2 separate regions of the Homo sapiens genome follow, and region 2 is linked to region 1. Evidence: promoter capture Hi-C in 16 types of primary human blood cells and fetal thymus (Javierre and others, 2016). All regions are on one chromosome and are shown on one strand. Each heading gives the region's core, a stretch centred on a gene start or on the middle of the fragment in contact. The rest is flanking DNA. Distances are from core to core; before and after follow the strand shown. Region 1 holds the start of DNALI1 (dynein axonemal light intermediate chain 1). Region 2 overlaps CDCA8 (cell division cycle associated 8).

Region 1 (4,796 bases), core at 767-3,266:
TTGTGTGCAAACTATAATTACATTTACATTTGGAAATAGAAGGGAGGAAGAAATGGAAATGCAATCAGAGATGATAACCCATGGGCAAATCATTAGCTTTTCAAATCATTAGCTTTTCCTCTTCTATTTCCTGAACTTTCTGCAATGCTGTTGGGGCTCAGAAACCAAAACCCCAAAATACGGCTCACTGACAAGCTGAACTGAAGAAGCCTCAATGTTCCTTTCCAGTGCCCATCATCTCTCCCAAAGCACAGGTCTTTATCTGCCTAAGATCCAGACTACCAAAAGGAATAATTGTTTCTTTCTTCTCCACCCAAGAATGTAATCACACCTGACCAGAGACCCTTATACTGTCAAAAGTAGCTATTTACAGCCGAGCACGGTGGCTGCAGCCTGTAATTCCGGCGCTTTGGGAGGCCAAGGCAGGAAAATCGCTTGAAGCCAGGAGTTTGAGACCAAACTGCCTAACATAGCAAGACTGTCTCTACAAAAAAATTAAATTTGGCAGGGGCTAGTGGCTCGTGCCTGTGGTCCCAGCAGAGACAGGAGGATCGCTTGAGCCCAGGAGTTGGAGGCTGCAGTGAGCCGTGATGGCACCACTGCACTCCAGCCAGGGCTACAGAGTGAGACCCTGTCTTCAAAAAAACCAAACCAAAACAAAAAAAAAAACACAAAAAACTATTTACAAATTTATCTCTGTTCCCTTATTCATTCATTCTGCCTAGTAATCCCTGAACAGAATTCCTCCTTCTCCCACCCTCACAAACCTGTTTTACCAGGAGGGTATATAAGCTTCTGAACCCTTTTCGGGGTGGGTAATCATACTGTGATTCTCCCCGTGTATACATTTTAAATACATTTGTATGCCTTTTCTCCAATTAATCTGCCTTTTGTGAATTGATTTTTGAGCGAATCTTCAGGGGGCAAAGGGGAGGTTTCCCATTGGCTCCTACTTTGTCATTTCTCCATTTAATTAGAAAAATACTTCAGGCTGGGCGCGGTGGCTCACGCCTGTAATCCCAGCACTTTGGGAGGCCGAGGCAGGCGGACCACGAGGTCAGGAGTTCGAGACCAGCCTGGCCAACGTGGTGAAACCCCGTCTCTACTAAAAATACAAAATTTAGCCGGGCATGGGGGCACGCGCCTGTAGTCCCAGCTACTCAGAAGGCTGAAGCAGGAGAATCGTTTGAACCCGGGAGGCGGAGGTTGCAGTGAGCCGAGATCACGCCACTGCACTTCAGCCTGGGCAACAGAGAGAGACTCCGTCTCAATTTAAAAATCAAAACAAGCCCTTTCTTGCGGTGACGACCTACCCACGAGAACATGCCTCTCGCAAAGGATCTCCTTCATCCCTCCCCAGAAGAGGAGAAGAGGAAACACAAGAAGAAACGCCTGGTGCAGAGCCCCAATTCCTACTTCATGGATGTGAAATGCCCAGGATGCTATAAAATCACCACAGTCTTTAGCCATGCACAAACGGCAGTTTTGTGTGTTGGCTGCTCCACTGTCCTCTGCCAGCCTACAGGAGGAAAAGTAAGGCTTACAGAAGGATGTTCCTTCAGGAGGAAGCAGCACTAAAAGCACTCTGAATCAAGATGAGTGGGAAACAATCTCAATGAACACATTTTGGGAACAACTACAACAACAAAAAAAACCTTCAAAAAACCTAGGAACTCCAGATGACTTCCTTTGGGAATTGTCCCTTAACCCTTCATGAGAAGTCAGGAGATGACTCCTGTTTTTCAGGTGACAAAATTGGAGCATGGCAAAGGTGATCTGCCCACTTCAAATCGCTAGCTAGACGGAGCATAGGGACTCGAACTGCCGTTTTCCTCGCCTCCAAGAGTACAGGGACGAACCGGTGAGCAGAAGGCCTAAGAAGTCAGGCACAAGAGGTTTCTGCCCAGGAGGCACAGAATGAAACTTGCCGGCTGTTGGCCCCGCCCCACTTCGAAGCTCCGCCCAGGCCAAGAAGCGCGGGGGCGGGAGTGAGGGGGCGGTTTCCATGGTGACGGCAAACAAGGCCCACACTGGACAGGGCAGCTGCTGGGTTGCTACTCTCGCCTCCGCCATGATTCCGCCCGCAGACTCTTTGCTCAAGTACGACACCCCAGTGCTGGTGAGCCGGAACACGGAGAAACGGAGCCCCAAGGTAAAGACGGGGGCTCGGGAGACAAAGGAGCCTCGAAACTCCGATAGGGAAAGACACATTCCCGCATGGAGGGTCAGGAATCTCAAGGGACGGGGATTGCAGCGACTGGGAGTAAAGGGAATTGGGAAGTCAGAGAAGGAGGGTGAGAGGATTGTATAGGAAGCCCAGATGTTGGGTGTGACCCCAGAGGGCAGATTTAGGATGGGGAAGGAGGTCACAGGGAGATGGATGGGGCTCACTCTTCTTAATGGTACGCGGGTCCAAGAACAGATGACTAGGTAGTGATTTCCCCATCACCAGAGGTGTGAAAGCACATGCGCCAGAAACACCTGTTCAAGCATTGAGTTGGGGCCAGACTTCATGGCCTCCTTCAGCTCTGTGACATAATTTCTGCTGAGAAGACCGACCCAAAGTAGGCTAGGAAGAGGGGAGGGCTGTGCAGAAGACCTGGAGCAATATACAGGTTGGGGATGTGTGGAGCTGAGCTCCTGAACAATTTCCTGCCCTCACCTGTGCCTTCATCTCAGGCTCGGCTACTGAAAGTCAGCCCCCAGCAGCCTGGACCTTCAGGTTCAGCCCCACAGCCACCCAAGACCAAGCTCCCCTCAACTCCCTGTGTCCCAGATCCTACAAAGCAGGCAGAAGAAATCTTGAATGCCATACTACCCCCAAGGTAAGAAAGTAGGAGCAGTGGCTGGGAGAAGGCCTAAGCTTTTACATCGTGGATTTTGGGAGTGTGGGGGGAGGCACTCTGCCTCTGTTCCTGGCTGGGGTTTCCTCCCAGTATCACAGAGCTCCTAGAACTTACATATGGCTGGATCCTGGCAGGGTGGTGGGAGACCTCTTCTCAATCTACCCTCATTTCCTGCATGCTGTCACCCAATCTCATGGCTTTAGATACCACCTATGTGCTGATGGCTCCCAAATGTGTATTTCCAGCCCTGTCTTCTCCACTAAACTCCAGGACCATATAGTCTTCTGCTTCCTCATTATCTTCATGAAGATATCTAATAGACATCTCAAACTCAATATATTCAAACTAAATCACAATTTCTTCCTTCCCCAATCTGCTCATCCCCCGTATTCTCCTTTTTACTAGGGACTCAAACCACCTTTCATTCCTTTTGATCACTCTCACAGCATGTGTCCTATCCTTCGTCACATTCTTTTGGCTCCACCTTCAAATTCTTTCCCAAATCCAACCACTTTTCACCACCTCTGCTTCCACCATCTTGCTCCTAGTCACTGGTGGCCACTCGCACTGCTGCAGTGGCCTCCTATCTGAAAACACTGCTTCCACTCTGCTCCTAGAATCTATCCTCCATACAGCCCCTAAGTCATAAGTCAGATCATGCCAGTCTCTGCCAGAAACTCTTTTGTGGCTTCCCATCTCAGACTAAAATCAAAAATCCTTACAATGGCCTGGAAGATGTGGCATGATCTGGCCTACGATGTATCCCTGACCTTATCTCCTGTTATTCTGTTTCTTGTTCACTGTGCTGAATCCACAGGGACCTCACTTGCTATTTCTGAAATGCCTCATTCACTCTCCTACCACAGGGCCCTGACAGCTGGTGTTTTCACTGCCAAAGATGTTCTCCCCTTGATATTCTCCTGGTTCCTTTCATTTCTTCCAGGCCTTCCTTGAGAATTTGCTATAGCAGAGCACCCCTGCCCAACATGATCTCCTTTTCTTGCTTTTTTCTTCTGCAGCCACATTGATAAAAGGACATGCCTTTTCATCTATTTTTATGTAATAAGTTGACAGCACAGTTGGTAAGGCTATGAGGAAAAGGGAAATGGGGGCCTACGCAGGCACACACCTTCATGAACCTCTCCACCCCGATACACACATCTGCCTCTTTCTGGCTCGCACAAGGTTCATGATGTCCTGTGTTTCCCACCCCGTAAGTTGGTGGGTAGTTCCTACTGTTCACATCAAGCAACAACCATAAATCGGTCTTCAGCATGTTAGGAGGGTAAGATCTGGAACAGTGGGGAATGATTTCACAGAGGCCCGTTGCCAAGGTGGAAATTGTCTACCACCTACCCATTCCCAAGATCCCTGTGGAGGCAGCATAGTGGGTGTGGCTTTGGAGCCTCACACCCCAAGGGATGGAGGATTCTGGTGGGTTGGTGGCAAAGCTGCCCCTCACCACTACTCAGGCAGAGGGCTCAAAGGGCCCTCTGCTCATGTGCTAGGGACCTTCAAGTCAACGGGTTTTGCTCAGCCTCGCTGTGTCTGCCACAGGGAGTGGGTGGAAGACACGCAGCTATGGATCCAGCAGGTGTCCAGCACCCCTAGCACCAGGATGGACGTGGTGCACCTCCAGGAGCAGTTAGACTTAAAGCTGCAGCAGCGGCAGGCCAGGGAAACAGGCATCTGCCCTGTCCGCAGGGAACTCTACTCACAGTGTTTTGGTGAGTGAGCCAGGTGAGGGGTGGGCACTACACACCCTACTGCTCCCTTCCCTTCACCTTCAGCACAGATCCAAGCCTGAGCACCTTGGAGCTGGAGCCCATCTCATGCTGGAATCCCCTCTTCTCCCCCTGCCTGACCCACCCAGCAACAGCTAACTGCCCCCTTCCCCTTCCCAGCTGAAGGGGGCCAGCCCCTCCACACCTGTGGGTATTTCTCCTCAGG
Region 2 (4,814 bases), core at 1,874-4,373, 140 kb after region 1:
TTGTTGAGTTGATCAGAATCATTTGGAATATCAGGGTTTGAAGGAGTCTGACCACCAAGGGCACATAGCAGATCTCCGCCAGCTTCATTCAGAAGGTAAAGGTAATGAGGAGCCAATTATCAATTTGGAAAAAATTGGAGCATTTGGGAGAGAGGTGGGGATTATTCACCCCCCTACATACACTGAGCTCCAATGTTTTAAAAGAGTTACCTCTGAGATGAATTATGCTTACTAGCTAATGCAGTTCTCTCTTTTTAAATTAGAAATACAGAACTGCAAATGAGAACTTCTAATGTAATATGAGAGAGCCATTGTTACCACACCAAGTTGAGAGAATTCTAGCCTTGACTAATATGATTTAAAACTCCAGAAAGGAACGATAGAAAATCTATAAAAGCTCTTAGTTGGGAAGTGTGTTGGGGCTCCCAAGACCACCTCCAGGTTTGGTGATTCACTAGGAGGATTCATGGGGCTCAGCATACAGTCACACCCATGGCGATGATTTATTACAGTGAAAGTATACAAAGCATTAATCAACAAAGGAGAAAATTGCATAGGACAAAGTCCAGAGGAAACCAGGCTTCTAGGAGTCCACTCCCTGTAGAGTCAAACAGAACATGCTTAATTCAACACATATGAAATGCTGTCTACCAGAAAATCTGATTAGAGAGTCAATGCCCAGAGTTTTAACTGGGGGCTGCTCACATAGGCATCCTCTGCCTAGCACATGTCAAAATCCTAGACTTTCAGGAGGGAAGTAGGTGTTCAGCATGAGCCATATTGTTTGCATAAAGTTTAGGCACAGTGAGGCATCTTGTTAAGGAAAGGTGGGAATCTTTCTGAAATCAAGTTCCCAGATGCCAACCGAGGCCAGGCTTGCAAACAGGCCTTTCTATGTGTATCAGTCTCAGGCCTGCTCTGTTAACTGTCCTGCACAGTAGATGCCCAGTGGCCTGCCACCACTGATGACTCCATAAAATGCCAGTTGTTTCTAGAGATGGCAGAAGGTTGGCAGGAATGCCCCTACTTTCTGTTGCATCAAGCCTGGCAAACATCAGTAACTTATTACAGCCCTATTTCTTGCTAAGCCTAAGACAGCCTCAGAATCCTTCTCTGAGTATGTCAAGCAGTCCCTACCAGAAATGAAACCTGTGCCATTCCAAACCTGTAGTAATTATTCTGATGTTTACATGTGTTCTATAAGGAAAGGACTGTGAATCATGACTGCTCTTTGTAGTGCCCATACTTATTACCATATGAAAAAAAAACGAATTTGAATGGTGACTGGAAGCCTTTTTGAAGGACCCAGGATCATCATAGAAAACCTTATTGAGACCCTGTAGATTTATCGAAAAAATGGTAAGCTTGACACACCACCAAGTGTTGTAGAGGATGTAGATCATTAGGAACTTGTATTGTTTGCAGATGGGCTGTAGTCAAGGGTAACCACTTTGGGAAACAATTTGGCATAATGCGAAGGCTGAATATTTATGTAACCTATAATCCCTGTCATGTCCTATCCAAAGGATAGAGCCAAGGGGAAACTTGGACATGTACCTCAGACACATGTAAGACAGTTCAAGGTAGCAGTGTTTATAATAGCAGGAAACTATTGATGGAAGATGGACAAATCCATTGTGGTATATTCACACAGTGGGATATGATATAGCAATGAAAACAAATTAACTACAACCACAAAGAGTGGTGAAAACAGCCAAAACCAAACAAAATGCTTAAGTACACACTTGTGAAAAAGCACATCTGTGTGTGCACACATGTATACACACATATGCATGTATCTGTGAGCACATACACATGTACCTTTCGATAAAGCAAGTGCAATGATATGGTTACCCCTGGGGAATGAAGGATTAGGAGACTCATCACCTTTGGAAGAAGAGATAAGAAAATGGAACAAGGAATGAATACAGAGCCAGAAGCAAGTTATTGGCAATGTTTTAGGTCTTGGGCTGTGTGGTGGGTTTATGGGAGTTTGCTATATTGTATATTGTATCACTAACATTTAACAGTCTTATGTATTAAATAATAGTTTTAAAAAAGTTTTTATCTTGAAATATTGTTCCTCATATTTTGGTGGAATAAGCCTGGTGCTTTCTGGCTATGTTTGTCATAGGCTGACCTGGATATCACCGAAATAAACAAACTAACAGCAGAAGCTATTCAGACACCCCTGAAATCTGCCAAAAGTGAGTACCTTTCAAAACTCCTTGTTGTACAGAAAGAACTGAGGCTCAGGTTGCTTGGTTGGCTGCTCAGGCAGCGCCTTGTTGGTAGAGCCTCTTCCCTTTAATGTCTGGTTCTTAATCTTGTAAATCCAAAAACTTGCTTTTGGATGGTGCATTTAGTTAATTTTTTTTCCCCCGAACAGCAATTCAAACCAGAAATTTAGTTAATTTTAGGCAGGACTGCTAAAAACCAAACTCAAGACCCGTGTGCGAGCTAAAATGAAAGTGAAAAAAGGGGGGAAAAAAGCTGTGCTAGAAACCAAACATTGTTGCCTGCTTACTTTCTCCTGGGTTAAATAGATGACAAGATTTAGAGAGGTGTTAAAAGACTGGTAACACCAACTGAGACGCTCCCTGATGTAATCAACAAAGTTGAAAGCGAATTGAAAAAGGAATGACTTTCTCTGCATATAATTCAAAATTACTCAATTCAGGCCAGGTGCGGTAGCTCACGCCTGTAATCCCAGCACTTTGGGAGGCCAAGCTGTGAGGATTACTTGAGCCCAGGAGTTCAAGACCAGCCTGGGCAATGTAGTGAGACCTTGTCTCTGAAAAAAAAAAGAAAGAAAGAAAGGAAAGGAAAGGAAAGGAAAGGAAAGGAAAGGAAAAAAAAAGTTACTCAGCTAGGCGTGGTGGCTCACGCCTGTAATCCAAGCACTTTGGGAGGCCGAGGTGGGTGGATCACGAGGTCAGGAGTTCGAGACCATCCTGGCTAATACGGTGAACCCCCGTCTCTACTAAAAAATACAAAAAATTAGCCGGGCGTGGTGGCGGGCGCCTGTAGTCCCAGCTACTTGGGAGGCTGAGACAGGAGAATGGCGTGAACCCGGGAGGTGGAGCTGGCAGTGAGCTGAGATCATGCCACTGCACTCTAGCCTGGGCGATAGAGCGAGACTCTGTCTCAAAAAAAAAAAAAAGTTACTCAATTCCATGATCTATCCACATAAAATCATCTTACATACATGTCCCGCACTCTGAGAAACACTGTCTTATAGGAAAAGTTGTATGGGAAACCAGGTTTTGACTAGTGAGCAAGGAATCGGATCAGGATGAATTGTGACATGGACTTAATGTCACTGTCATTAAGCTATGATAGTTTGATGCATCCAATTCTTATAAGAACATCCTGACCCATGGCCAGGATTTCGGGGCTACACACCAGGGCACGCTCTACAGTAGGCAGGGCAAGCTCAATTATTCAGAATGCTGGGCTGTCCCTACAAAGCATCATATGGGGTCTCTTAACACTCTGGTTAGTTTCCTTTGTCTAAACCCTCTTTCTTAAAAAGTCTTCTTTATTTTTAGTCCATTTCTTCCTTGCAGCTTAAGATTGTGTACATTTTATTCCTATAAGAAATGTGAATGCACAAAACTTTATTTTCATCAGAAATACCACCCTGTTGAAACTGTTTCTTACAGCACGAAAGGTAATACAGGTAGATGAAATGATAGTGGAAGAGGAAGAAGAAGAAGAAAATGAACGTAAGAATCTTCAAACTGCAAGAGTAAGTGGACACTGAGGTTGGAGGCTGGGGGTTATCACAAGACAAGCAAATACAAATGCATAAAATACACTGTTGTACACCAGAGCTCACAGTTTAGTAGAGATGATCCTACTTTACATGGCAATGACAAAAGAGATAATTGACTGGTGTGCAAAGTGTGTAGAACACAGAAGAGGAAGCTAGCAAGCCTCCCCTACCCCACTAGGACATAGACAGGCCTTTCAAGGTGAGTGAGAGTCTACTAGCTAGAGAAGAAAGGGAAGAGGAACAGTATTCAGGATAGATGGGGGAGGCGGAAAACTGAAGATGAGGAAACCAGTTAGAAGCCTATGAATTCTTGAACTGACATGCTGACACTATAGAATGAAGGGATGGTTTTTAGATAGGTTTTAGAAAGAAGTGGCATGGTTGGTGGAGAAAAGGAGGAATCAGAGACAACTGCATGGTTTCTAGCTAAGGCAAATGCTATCCAGTGAGGTGTGGGACCCAGGTGGCAGAGGGTGCTGGACTGGGGGTGGTGGAGCACATGCCAATTGCATGACATGTTGACCATTCATTACTTTTCCAGGACATCTAGGCTAGACAGAAATTTCAGCCTGGAGCTCAGGGAGAAGAGGGAGATTTGAGAGATACACTGCCTCCCAGATCTTTAGGTGTTTGTCCCAGTGTGGGAGTGGAGATGGTTGTGCAGGGAGAGCAGGAAGGGAGGGAGTCAGGGTGGACACTAGAGGGAGGGTAGAGAGAGGAGCTCCTAAGGCAGACTGCCAAGGAAGTTAGAGAAGCAGGAAAGACAGATCCATCACGGAGGACAAGGGAGGAGAGAATATATGGAAGATAAGGAGTGATTCTTGCCAGGGACCTCCCAGGCCCCAGGAAGGGAGCACTGCAGGGTTTGCCTTTGATTGGGCACCTGGGACGCCCTGAGTGACCTTCACAGCAGCCCTTTATGTAAAGTAGTGGGGTACAAGCCAGGCTGCAATCAGTTCAAAAGAGATTTACCTTTAATCTTGGTCAAAATCCTCTATTTTGAAAACCCAGCCAGTGGAAGTCCTTATTCAATTAG

The links. The method cuts DNA at HindIII sites, captures the fragments that hold promoters and counts their contacts. A CHiCAGO score of 5 or more calls a contact.
Region 2: a fragment that was not itself captured here is called in contact with the fragment with the promoter of DNALI1 in region 1 in 2 of 17 cell types (fetal thymus and monocytes); the score reaches 5.6 in fetal thymus.

What each region holds. Positions count from the first base shown.
Region 1 is chr1:37,554,924-37,559,719 of GRCh38, forward strand. It overlaps DNALI1 (dynein axonemal light intermediate chain 1), which reads left to right and starts at 2,017. Exons shown (of 6, transcript NM_003462.5): 1 at 2,017-2,152; 2 at 2,680-2,825; 3 at 4,404-4,573. The coding sequence starts at 2,072. It also overlaps the pseudogene RPS27P9. RefSeq lists enhancers at 624-1,594, 1,805-2,099. The HindIII fragment of the contact is 2,071 bases long and covers 791-2,861 here.
Region 2 is chr1:37,696,771-37,701,584 of GRCh38, forward strand. It overlaps CDCA8 (cell division cycle associated 8), which reads left to right. Exons shown (of 10, transcript NM_001256875.2): 4 at 2,135-2,207; 5 at 3,666-3,751. Among named protein-coding and RNA genes, the nearest start is that of CDCA8, 6.7 kb to the left of the region's middle. The HindIII fragment of the contact is 3,522 bases long and covers 1,363-4,814 here.